2 separate regions of the Homo sapiens genome follow, and region 2 is linked to region 1. Evidence: promoter capture Hi-C in 16 types of primary human blood cells and fetal thymus (Javierre and others, 2016). All regions are on one chromosome and are shown on one strand. The core of a region is centred on a gene start or on the middle of the fragment in contact, and the rest is flanking DNA. Distances in the headings are between cores, read along the strand shown. Region 1 holds the start of TRAF5 (TNF receptor associated factor 5). Region 2 overlaps NTRAS (non-coding transcript regulating alternative splicing).

What was found. Contacts are between HindIII fragments. The CHiCAGO score rates a contact against its expected background, and 5 or more counts as called.
Region 2: a fragment that was not itself captured here is called in contact with the fragment with the promoter of TRAF5 in region 1 in 1 of 17 cell types (M2 macrophages); the score reaches 6.4 in M2 macrophages.

Annotation. Positions count from the first base shown.
Region 1 is chr1:211,324,107-211,330,486 of GRCh38, forward strand. It overlaps TRAF5 (TNF receptor associated factor 5), which reads left to right and starts at 2,727. Exons shown (of 11, transcript NM_001033910.3): 1 at 2,727-2,783. RefSeq lists enhancers at 1,431-1,932, 2,202-2,591, 6,155-6,214 and a silencer at 2,652-3,021. The HindIII fragment of the contact is 10,339 bases long and covers 1-5,825 here.
Region 2 is chr1:211,645,997-211,651,976 of GRCh38, forward strand. The region is part of intron 2 of NTRAS (non-coding transcript regulating alternative splicing); the gene reads left to right. Among named protein-coding and RNA genes, the nearest start is that of NTRAS, 9.2 kb to the left of the region's middle. RefSeq lists an enhancer at 3,011-3,305. The HindIII fragment of the contact is 4,857 bases long and covers 1,297-5,980 here.

The sequences.
Region 1 (6,380 bases), core at 1,477-3,976:
TTTCCATCTATAAAATGGAGTTGATTATTAAATGAGTTAATATAAAAAACACTGAGCACAGTACCTGGTATATAAAACGTAATAGGCCGGGCACAGAGGCTCATGCCTATAATCCCAGCACTTTGGTAGGCCGAGGTGGGTGGATCACTTGGGATCAGGAATCTGAGACCAGCCTGGCCAACATGGCGAAATTCCATCTCTACTAAAAATACAAAAATTAGCTAGGTGTGGTGGTGCACGCCTATAGTCCCAGCTACTCGGGAGGCTGAGGTGGGAGAATTGTTTAAACCCAGGACGTGGAGGTTGCAGTGAGCCAAGATCACGCCACTGCACTCTATCCTGGGTGACAGAGCGAGATTCCATCTAAAAAAAAAAAAAAGAAACCTTAATAAACGTTAGTTATCACTTGAAGGTATTTAATGTTTTTTTATATGTGCATTTATGTACATACAGGATTCAAATTCCGCTTTATGATCAACAGGGAATTGGGACTATGTTACTGACTTCTGACTAATACCCGTCTAAAATTCCTTTACCCTTTCCACTTAGACGCAGCCCTCGAGTTATGCGGCCCCCATTTCCCACCACAATAAAGATCCACCTCTCTATCCCAGGTTTTATTCCATCATATTTAAGGCTTGGATGTAATTTTTGGAACAATTGACTGCTTTATTTAGTTGGTGGGGAGAGGAGTAGGAGAGAGAAGCAAATTACAGTCAATGACAGGACCAGGGATTCTGAGCATACCTGCATGTATGCATACTAGACACTGATGTTCCAGCCAGTGAAAGGAGATATAACTTCTAAAAAACAGTATCAACTTTATTATGCTTGGAAGTAATGAGAAGAGAGGCAAGAAGCAGGCAATGGTAAGAGAAAGCGGGTGGGACGTAGTGGCTTGCACATTTAATCCCAGCACTTTGGGAGGTCGAGGTGGGAGGATCGCTTAAACCCAGGAGTTTGAGACCAGCCTGGGCAACATAGTAAGTCTCCATCTCTTCAAAAAAAAAAAAAAAAAAAAAGGAGCTGGGGGAGGTGGGCGTAGTGGTGTGTGCCTGTAGTCCCAGCTACTCTGGGGGCTGAAGCGGCAGAATTACTTGAGCCCAGGAGATCCAGCCTGCAGTGAGCTGTGATCATGCCCCTGCACTCCAGCCTGGGTGACAGAGTGAGAACCTCTCTCAAAAAATACACACCCACAAAAAGAGAGGGAAAGTATAGTGTATGGCAGAACAGGAAGGAGAACTTGGGTTCACTAAGCACCTACTCTGTGTTAGGCGTACAGGAGTGCCATCTCATTTAATTCTCATGAGAAGATTATGAGACAGATCTACAGTCCCAAAGCAACACCCACCAGTGCCTCTCCCCCACGGAGCGGTTCATCTAACTCACCAACCAAAAAAGGTTTGGATCTGGATTTCTGGCTCTTTGGAGAAATAAGAGATCAGGTAACAATAGGCTGGCACTGGGTGGTGGCTGCTCCACTAGATCCTCCACCTGCTCTTTAGTGCACCAGCGCCTCCCTCCTTTCTCCATGACCACAACCTCTGCCTCCCTCCTGTATGTTTCCTGCCGAGCTCCTGTGCACATCTGAGTTTTTGACTCCCAAGGTGTGTATTATTCTCCCCTTTTATTGACGAGGACGGTAACTGAAACTCAGAGCAGTTAAGTACTTTTCCCACGGTGGCCTAACTGAAAGTAAAGGATCTAGATAGAATTGGAATTTTGGTCCATTTCATTTATATAGAATGTATTGCCCTTGGAGAGAATATATTGTAAGAAAGAGCCCGTATCTAAGAGTGCGCAGGCCAAGCGCGGTGGCTCACGCCTGTTGGGAGGGCAAGGCAGGCGGATCACAAGGTCAAGAGATGAGACCAGCCTGACCAACATGGTGAAACCCCGTCTCTACTAAAAGTACAAAAATTAGCCCGGCGTGGTGGCACATGCTTGTAATCCCAGCTACTCGGGAGGCTGAGGCAGGAGAATTGCTTGAACCTGGGAGGCCAGGGTTGCAGTGAGCCGAGATCGCGTCACCGCACTCCAGCCTGGCGTGAGAGCGAGACTCCGTCTCAAAAAATAAAATAAAATAAAAAATACGTATAGAGAGAGAGAGAGGGAGAGAGACAGGCAGACAGCAGACCTGGATTCAAGTTCCAGCTGCAGAGCTTGCTGAGCGTGTCTAACCTTGGGTACGTCACTCCACGTTGCTGCTCTGGCCCTCAGACAGCTCATCTGTAAAATGGGGATGACCAGGCCTACTTCACCAGCTTGTTTTGAGGACCACAGGAGATGTTTGGGAAGCCAACCGGGGAGCTCTACAACTCTCAGAGATTGCTGGTGTTAGGCCAACAGCAAGAGGAGGGCTGGCAAATTTGTGCTACCCTGAAGGAAAGTCCAGGAAGGACTGATTTGAGCCAGATCTCAAGCAAGGCCTTGAGCAAATGGGTCAACACAGGAGAGGACGGGCTGAGCCTTGTTGTGCCTGACGGAAGAGCAAGACGGCCACAATTCAGACGCACGTGAGGGAAATCAGATGACTGGACTTGTAGATACTAACGGTTCTGAAGCGGGTAGGTTAGCTTTCCAACCGCCTGGATGACGGTCTCAGCCTCCTCCCGACCCCTTCCTGCGCGTCCGCTCTTCCCCTGCGCCCGCCCGCGCCCCTCCGCCCGCGCCCCGGCCCCGCCCCAGGCCTCGCCTCCGCTTCGCCGCCGCCGCCGGCCGCAGCCAGGAGCAGCAGCCGCGCCTGCAGACCGGCCTCGCGGAGCCCGCGCGCCGAGCCCCACGTGAGTCCGGCGGGTCGCCGCCCTGGGCACCCTCGCGACGGAAGGGCCGGGGTGGGGACACCGACGAGCGCTTTTCATCTCGTCCCAGTTACTTTGAAACCGAAAGCGCCTGCTGGCGTCCGGCCGGTCCCCGACCGGCGGGGAGGGCGCGAGGCGGCGGCTGGGCCGGGGGAGGCGGAGGGGCCCGGGCTTGCGGGAGACCGGCGGGGCAGGTGACCGCCGACGGCCCGGGGACAGCGGGAGCGGTGCGGAGCGGGTTTCTTAGCCGGGGAGAGGTGTGGCGAGGGCGGAGACTGGGGGTCCAAAGCTGGGGAGCTGGTCCAGAGGGCGGCTGTGGACCGGAGGGGCCAGGTTCCGTCGGGGTGCACTGGCGGGGAGGACTTTCAGGCACGTCCCGCACATCCGCACTGCAAACCAGGCCCTGGCCCCCTTCCGCACCCGAAGGCACCCTCTCCACCTTTGCAGGGCTTTCCAATCAAAGCAACTCCAGAATGAAACTTCAGGATTGCAAGGAATGGAAGCCTCTACCAGCTGTTCGTTTGCGCGTCTTCCTTTAGAAAGCAGCTACCCCCCTCCCCCAGAAGGCGAGCTCTAAGGAACCTTGACGCAAACCAAAGCTCCGAGAGGTGGAAGGAGTTGCCCAGAGGCACCCAGAGAATTCGCAGATTCTGAGTTCTCCGTACCAGATGGTCTCCACTTTGTTCCTGTTCTGCAGGGTCTTGGTGGTTCTGAGAATTTTCGGGGCCACGCTCTTGCTGCGGGTCCCACTGGGCCACTCTGGCTGGCCGACTTTCTCTGCTCATTCGGCCTCCTTCTGCTAAGTTTCCATATTTGGGTATTTCAGATTTACTTTCATGAGAACTCAGTTATCTCGCTGTGGCAGGCAGAGCTGCCTCAGGCGAGCATTGAGGTTGGTGAAACCAGGCGAGGCTCCCTGCCAGGGCTGCCCCTGCAGCCCCCACCCTCCATAGCCTTGGGCTCTGACCCACCTCCTGTGAGGATAGGCATCTGGTAACCAGTTTAATTCTGTAAATATTTATTGGGCAGGTGCTGTGTGAGAACTGGGCTGGGGCCAGTGGAATATGGTTATTTCCTCCAGAGATACTTGCATTTTAAAAGGGCTCTGGAAGACCTGAGATGCAAAGAAATTAGTTGAACCATTTCTGGAAATAGAACAGTTTTGGGTGTGTGCGAGATAATTTTAGGCAGCAAAAGGCTGGGCTAGGAACTCTCAAATCCCAGTGCAGCTGCTCTGCCTTATGTACTCACAAAGCTGAAAACAGGGGTGTTAATGTAATTGATGGTTTGGGTGGAAACACTTCCATCCCTAACTCTAATTTGAACTAGAAAGACAGAAATTGCTGCAGGAACGATGGATGTAAGATGGAAGTGGAAAACGCCTAGCTTCTGTAAAGGTTTTTGATTTTGTTACAGTTACTGTTTTTGTTGTAACTCTATGGAATGGATCACCTCTCAGATCCCTGGCTCCTGGACAGAGGCAGGAGAAAGTGTCTGAGCCAGCATCTGGAACATGGGAAGTGATGGAGAAGGCGACTTCTCCCACGGCCTCTGGGCTGAGAGGCCTGTTGTGACGGGCAGGGTAGGATGGTGGTATTTCCCTCTGTCAGCAGCAAGCCCGCTGGACTTGGGTAGTAGGGCGATGGAAAGAGTGTGGAAAAGAGCTGCCGTCCACTGAACGTCCTGACGATAGGGACTGGGATGTTTCAGTGGGGATGATTTGCACAGTCGGGGAGCTAGATGCCTCAGAGTCAGTCTTGTTAGGCTTGCAGTGGGAAAGGCACCTCAGTACTTAGACAAACCTCCTCTGATTAGCTCAGCTTTACTGGGGAGGACCTTGAAGGAAAAATAATTATTTGTTTGTAAAGCTCGTTCCTTTGCAAAGCATTTTCTCTTTGTTCTTGTCGTTTTGTTCTCATTTCGTCCTCCATGACGCCCTCATGAGTTAGAGCAGGCTTATTCTCTACATCTCTCAGATTGTGAGGGTGAAGCACTGAGGCGGTAAATAGCTCCCTGAGCTCCACTGCTGGACCAGGATCAGAGCATTGAGGTGTCTTGTTCCCCTGCTCCAGGCCCCTCACCCTGGCTTCTCAGAGAGCCATATCTGCCCACCTCTTCCTCCGTCTGAGGGGTCAGCAAGGGGACCCAGATTCTGATAATGCCTCTGTGGTCTGTCCCCAGCAACATGGAGCAAGTTCTGCTGGAGACTCTGGCCTAACCACCACAAGAACAGACATCCACTCTGTTAGCTCTGCCTAGCCAGGCAAACTCCGGGCAAGACCCTTGTCTGTTTTCATGTGTGTCTTGGAACCTGGCATAGAGTAGGCCTAAACAGATGTTTGCTGAATCGAATTGAATTCATTCAGGGTACGTCTCCCTTGGGGTCTGAGCTGCCAGGAACAAGTGCTGGGTAGGCTTGGCAGAGAGAGGTTGAGCTCCCAGCAGGACTTGCTTAAATCCAGAAATTAGAATAACACTGTACAGCTTACGAGAAGCCCATCTCATCTGATTAACTTCTCACTACCTCCTCAGGAGAAGGGAGAGGCACATGCTATTCCTTCCACTTTACCTGGTTGCAAGCTGAGGCTCAGAAGTGATTTGAAAGACCTCACAGCATGTAGGGATGGGGCAGGACCTAATCCCAAGTCTTCTTTCTCCAATTCCTGTGTTTTTCCCATAGTATCTTAATTAAAGGAAGCCAGGATTCTGGGCAGGAGGAGGATGAGAGAACCAGCGAGACAGTCATCAAAAGCTGCCTGACACCTTTGTCACTGATCAGGGGTCAGTGTCTGACTCAGTCTCTGAAGAGCTTTTTTCTGCCCAGGTTGTGGCTTTTTCTGGGATTCTGGATAGGAGTTCTAGCTCCAGCAGAGGTGTAGCAAGTGAGTATCTGTGTGTGTTGGGGCAGAGGAGAACACGCTGCAGGGCAGAGGGAGTCCTCAGAGCTGGCAGGCCTCTGCTGCTGCTGCCGCTGCCACCACCCAGGAGTGGGCCAGCATGAATTTGTTGCCTTGCCCAGAGGAAAGCTTTATTTGAAGGATCACTCAGCAGCCTTGACCCATATGGCCTCCAGCAAGTCCTATCTTGTGAGAAAGTGGCTTGGAGGACCAGGCAGGAGATAAAAGTGAAAGTACTCATTAGTCCTGACAGAGGAACTCAGTCTGTTTACAGTGACAGTGGTGAGCACATTTTGCATATTTGTACCTGGAGGCAGGTGGTGGTGCATGCTTGGATCGTGCTGTAGCAAAAGCAGTATACATGCAAATGGTCTGTACACTGTGCAGTATCCGTGTGATGTGCAGGTCTTAGAGACCCAGTATTAAGTGACAGAGCCCAGTGAGTGCCCTCCCAGGATATCTCACTTACTTTCAGCAGAGCCCCATGTCTCATTTCTTGACACCACAGGCTCCATCAACTTCCCTCCTTACCAATTCAGAACATTCCTGAATTTTTTTCCATGGCTTTTTTTTTTTTTCTCTCAAGGAGAAAGTGCTCTCCTCCAGAACAAGGCGAGAGTACCTTTTCCACGTACACTCCCAAGTCAGCTCTCTCCTCCTCCCTCTGAGGCAGGTTCCCTCC
Region 2 (5,980 bases), core at 2,475-4,974, 320 kb after region 1:
AGTAGCTGGGATTACAGGTGCCCACCACCATGCCCAGCTAATTTTTGTATTTTCAGTGGAGACGGGGTTTCACCAGGTTGGCCAGGCTGGTCTTGAACTCCTGACCTCAAGCGATCTGTCCGCCTCAGCCTCCCAAAGTGCTGGGATCACAGGCGTGAGCCACTGTGCACAGCCTAAAAATTTTTTAACCGTTCATTTTTTGACATTTAAGTTGTTCCTATTTTTTGCTGTTATAAAAAACATTCAATAGCCACTTTTGCACAAACATCTTTGCACATTTATCTGAGCACATACTTAGGATAAACTTCATAAAATTGGAATTGCTGGGTCAAAGGATAAGGACATTTTAAGGTTGTTGGTACACCCTGCCTTGGCTGGTTTCTTCCTTTGCTTCTATGAAAACCATTGCCACCTTGAGATCAGGGACGTATTTGCCTAAATTTTCAGTAGTGCTATGATTTTGTCATTAGATGTTTAGATTATAATTCATCTGGACTAATCATAACACTAATAATAATATGAGGTAATACTTATTGGGTGGGGACTATGAGTTGGACATTGGGCTAAGAAATTCTTATGCATAATCTTACTTCACCCCTACTATTATGTTCAGGGAACTATTTTTATTTCATCTTACATAGGAAGAAACTAAGATTGTGAGTTTAACTTGGGATGAGGCAGGGATCTAGCTTTATTTTTATTTTCCTTTCTTTCTTTCTTCCTTCCTTTCTTCCTTACCTTCTTTCCTTCTTTTGTTTCCTTCTTTCTTTCTTTCTTTCTTTCTTCCTTTCTTCCTTCCTTTCTTTTTCTTTCTTTCTTTCTTTCTCTCTCTCTGTTTCTTTCTTTCCTTTCTTTTCTTTTTTAAAGACAGGGTCTCACTCTGTCACCTAGGCTGGAGTGCAGTGGCGAGATCTCAGCTCACTGCAGTCTTGACCTCCCTGGGCTCAAGTGATCCTCAGCCTCCCAAGTACCTGCAACCACAGGCACACGCCCCCCATGCCCGGCTAGCTTTTCTTGTGTGTGTGTATGTGGGTTTGTGTGTGTTTGTGTGCGTGTATTTTGTAGAGATGGGATTTTGCCATGTTGCCCAGGCTAGTAGCTTTGTTTTTCCATATTATTCCAACATCATTTATTAAACAATGAATCTTTCCATCACTGATTTGAATATCCCATTCAGCATACACTACCAATTTCTTTTTATACATAGGATCTGTTCCTGGGCCTTCTCTTCTTTTCCACTGAGCTGCCTGTCCTTTTTCCATTTCACACGGTTTTTTGTTTTTTGTTTACCACTGAAGCTTTAAAATGTATTTTACTGTCTGGGAATGCAGAACCACCCTGTTCTTTTTCTCCCAGAAATTTTATGATTCTATTCATACATAAATTTATTTCCAGGTGAATTCATTTTGTCACATTAAAAGTAAATCTTAGATATTTTTATTAGAATTGCATAAGACTTATGCATTTGGGCAAATGGCATTTGACAGTGTTGAGTTCTCGGTGTGGTGTGTTTTGCCTTTTATTTAATGTCCCTCAGTGTCATTCAGCAGATTTTTTGTTATGAGTTTTGCACAGTTCCTGTATACTTCATTCCTTGGCTTTGCTATTGTAAGTGGGAACTTTTTGCATTATATTTTGTGGCCAGTTCACCCTAGTGTATAGAAAGCTATGAAATGGGTACTAGTGTTTCTCGTTTACAGATGAAGGAGTAGAAATTAAGGGCACAGTGCCAGGTGAGACTCTAGTTGAGGACAGGGCTATTCAGAGGTGCGGCCGTGTCTGAACCTGCCTCAGTCATAACCACTCTCTTAGAAGGAAGCTGCCCGTGCTCTCCAAAGACAGTGTCTGGTCAGACCCAGCTTGGTGTCTGCTGCCTGGCTTGGTGCTCCTGGCTTGGTGTCTGCTGCCTGGACAGTTCCAGATTCAAGGGCAGCCAAACATTTCTGGGCAGCAAGCTCCCTGGCCTGATCAAGCTCTGGGCCATGGCTGTGCCCCGCAAACCCCAGAACCCAATAAAAGGAGTCCCCATTAGGTGGGCATGGCTGCAGGTGACTGTTGCACAGTAGGACTTTGGACCACTTATTTGAAAGCTGCTGTTCTTACTGTTCAGCATCAGAGAGAATTTGATGAACTCTATGGACTCTCAGACAAATGCCCCAAATGCTGTTGACACTTTCAGAGGATGTATGGACAACCCCAAAACACACCCAAGGATCTTGGGTTAAATTAATATTCCTGTGTTAAAACAATGGCCCAGACAGGGATTCCTCCAGGTGGGAGGTGCCCAGGGATGGGGTCACGTTCAGAGGACAGAAGTCCTTGTGTCTGTGTGACTTTGGATGGGTCACTTCCCTCTCTGAATCGTTATTTTCTCCATGAGAACAATATCTACCCAGTCTAGTTATGGTGTTGTTTGGGAATCGTCTGGTATCCTGTCTTGTGACAGTGCTTTGAAAACTGCAGTTAAGTAACACAAAGGTAAGAAATGACTCATGCCAGGAAAGGGAATAGCATGAGGCCCAGCTCTGATATGCAAAGGCCTCTCAGATTCTTAGAGAATATTATTGGCTCTCACACCACCAGCTGCTCCCAGTGAACTTGGCCTTCGCCCCCAGGAATGGCTGATAAAGGCCTTCACTGCTTTCCACTTCTGAGCTGATGGGACTGTTTTAGCTGACCCAGCTAAAACCATGATTAAGTGGCTGGATTTGGAAAAGAAGTGTTGGGGCTCATGGTTCACAGATACGTTTCTGGGTTGTTATAAAAATTAATAATTAGGCTGGGTGCGGTGGCTCACTCCTGTAATCCCAGCACTTTGGGAGGCCGAAGCAGGAGGACCACTTGAGGTCAGGAGCTCAAGACTAGCCTGGCCAACATGGCGAAACCCTGCCTCTACTAATAATACAAAAATTAGCCGGATGTGGTGGCTCATGCCTGTAATCTCAGCTACTCAGGAGGCTGAGACAGGAGAATCGCTTGAACCTGGGAGGTGGAGGTTGCAGTGAGCTGAGATTGTGCCACTGCACTCCAGTCTGGGTGACAGAGTGAAAATATGTCTCAAAAAACAAAATTAATAATTAATCCTCTCCTGCATGCTGGAGGGGAACTGCCAGCAGCCTCCGAGTTATGGAGAGCACTCCTGGCCACCAGGCTCCCCGTGAGTCCTGGCTCCGTGTGAGCCCAGGCCAGCCCTCCTCTCTACTGCCCTCCACTGGGTCCCCATGGTAAAATAAGGGGCTGCACTTGATGAAAGTGAATTTGCAACTGAAAAAATATGTAATAATAAAGCCAGATCCCTTCTAAGAGACTTTAAAGGTCTTCCAACTTGTCTTCTTCCTGCTCCCAGTAGATTATGTCCCCTGTCCTCATGCCCCAGCGTGAACTTTAGGCCCTGGACACATCAGCTTGCACACACATGTGTGTTTGTGTGGGGGTGGGTGGGTGTGCATGTGTGTCCTTGGGGGAAGCTGGGGGAAAGGGGCAAAAGAGAACCCTCACTGGGAACCTTTTTCTAAATACAAATGGCTGCCCCCTTCTCCCTGGGAAATATCTGAATGGGGTGAGGGATATACTGCTTTGGTCTTCCGACCATCCAGATCCCCATCTCCAGACTCTCCAGCCAGAGGGCAGGGCAGTAGGGGGACTGGCAGGACTATTTTGAACGCCTGGTTCTCAGAACCACCTCCCTGCAGTGCTCCTGTTCAGAGGTCAGAGGTGTGCAGCGTCCTTTCATCCTCTCCTTGGAGAGCAAGCCTGATGAGGCAGGGAATATCTTTCTGACTCCCCGGTTCCTGGCTCCATGGCAGGCATGCAACAGAAGCTCTCGGACAAATAAATGGGACCTTCCCCCATACTTTGCCTAAACCTTCTTATGTCCCTTCTCTGCTCCCTCTTTACCAATGTGGGTATCTCCTCTCCTCCCAACTTCTGCTCAAATTGTAGCTTCTGGGGATGCCTCCAGCTGAACCCCCAGGCCTCCCCAGATCTGTGGCCCCAGCCCTGTGTCCCTGCATCTTTGCTGATCCCAGCCAGAAGCTGCCAGGTATGCATTTTCATCAACAGTAGTGAGGACTATTTATTAATTTATTTATTTTTGAGACAGAGTCTTGCTCTGTCACTCAGGCTTGAGTGCAATGGCCTGAACTCGGCTCACTGCAACCTCTGCCTCCCAGGCTCAAGAGATTCTTGTGCCTCAGCCTCCCGAGTAGCTGGGATTACAGGCGTGTGCCACCACGCCCGGCTAATTTTTGTGTTTTTAGTAAAGACAGGGTTTCACCATGTTGGCCAGGCTGGTCTTGAATTCCAGACCTCAAGTGATTCATCCTCCTTGGCCTCCCAAAGTGCTGGGATTACAAGTGTGAGTCACCATGCCCAGCCAGTAAGGACTATTCGTTAAGCAGCATTATAGATCACCTGTGTATGTCTGCTAAAAAAAAAAAAAAAAAAAAAAGGGCACCCTCTCTACCCAGATGAGCAAAGGTATTTTTTCTGATACCTGTAACAAATCTAATATTGCCACAATTGCTACATGATTAGTGAGAGAAGCATTTGATAGGCTAATCAATTGATTGGTCTGGGGTAAATATTCAGTGAATCCAAAGTTCAACTCTAATGAGCCACTTCACTTCTCCTGGGCCCTCTTGGTAATGTGGTACCAGGAACTCTGGAAGTCCTCATGGCATTGCTCAAGGGAGTGGTGGGATGGGTCCCCAGCTGCTCTTTGCACAGCTCTCTGCTCTAGGTGACTGTCTGGTCCATGAGCTGGGCTGGCCCAGTCTGTCTCTGGCAATCCTGGGGACATCTGCTGTTGACATCCTTGGTGAGTGTAACCTCCAGCTTACACAACCCATTGGACACCTCCTCTGCTCTCAAAAACTCTGCTGACCCCCAAAGTATGGTTGTGACTCCCATTAAGCCCAAGACCCACGTAGACCCTATGCCCCCAGCCAGATCCTCATTGGAAACCCCCATGGGAACATACAAGAAAGTGGATCTCTTCCAGTTCCTCCCACATTACGTGGCATCAAGGGCTTTGGGAATGTCAAACCAAATACTCCCCTGTCCTCAGCAGAGCACCCTCCCCTTTCCCAACGCCCCCCCGCCGCCACCACCAGGCTAACGAAGTTCTAAATGGGGGTCAGGGCACAAAATACTCTGTGTTTGCCTTTTCTCTCAATCTATTCAACTGCTCACCCCACCCAACTCCCACCAATCCAGTCCTCTACCCTGGGACTTTAGCCTGCAGTAGGAAGATCAGCCCACGAGTGTGACCACCCAGGTCCCCAACCTCAGCCCATCTTCTTCCCAGTTTCCTGGGCCTGGAGGGGAGCTCTAATCCCTTTCAGTTTTAGCCTTGATATCCTTAACATCTTTGCCACTAGACAGTGGGCCACGGACGAGCTGCATCAGTATCCCCAGAGCTTATTAGAAATGTAGACTCTCAAGCCCCACCATGGACTTGCGGAACCAGGGCTTGTATGTTAACAAGGTGCCCGGGTGATTCACATGCACATTAAAGTCAGAGAAGCGGTGCTGGCTTGCAGCACATCCTGGCAGCGTGTTCTCCTTAGCTTATGTCAGACTCCTGGATCTGGTCCGCCAGGCCTGGTTCTTAATATGTTAGTGGAACTCAGCAAATTTAGGAAACCCTTCTCTCTCTTGTCAAAGTTTGACTTCTAGATGCTGCAGACTCAACTATCTTGCCTCCATGCCTTGGATGTCACTGGCTGCATAAGGACTTTGTCTTTCTCTTGACATTCTTGCTGTAACAATCCCAGTCCTCCTCAGTCCATTCTTCTTGAAAATGGCACTGGGGAAAGAGGCAAATATACAGAATGGAGAAAGAGAGAAACACATGAACATACTTGAAAACTACTCTCCCAGCTACAATAGCTTTTGCTGACTTGAGCTTCAAGTGATGCCAGCAGGCTACATGGAGGGTAGAGGTGAGAAGGGGTGGCACACACTTCACAGATGTCAC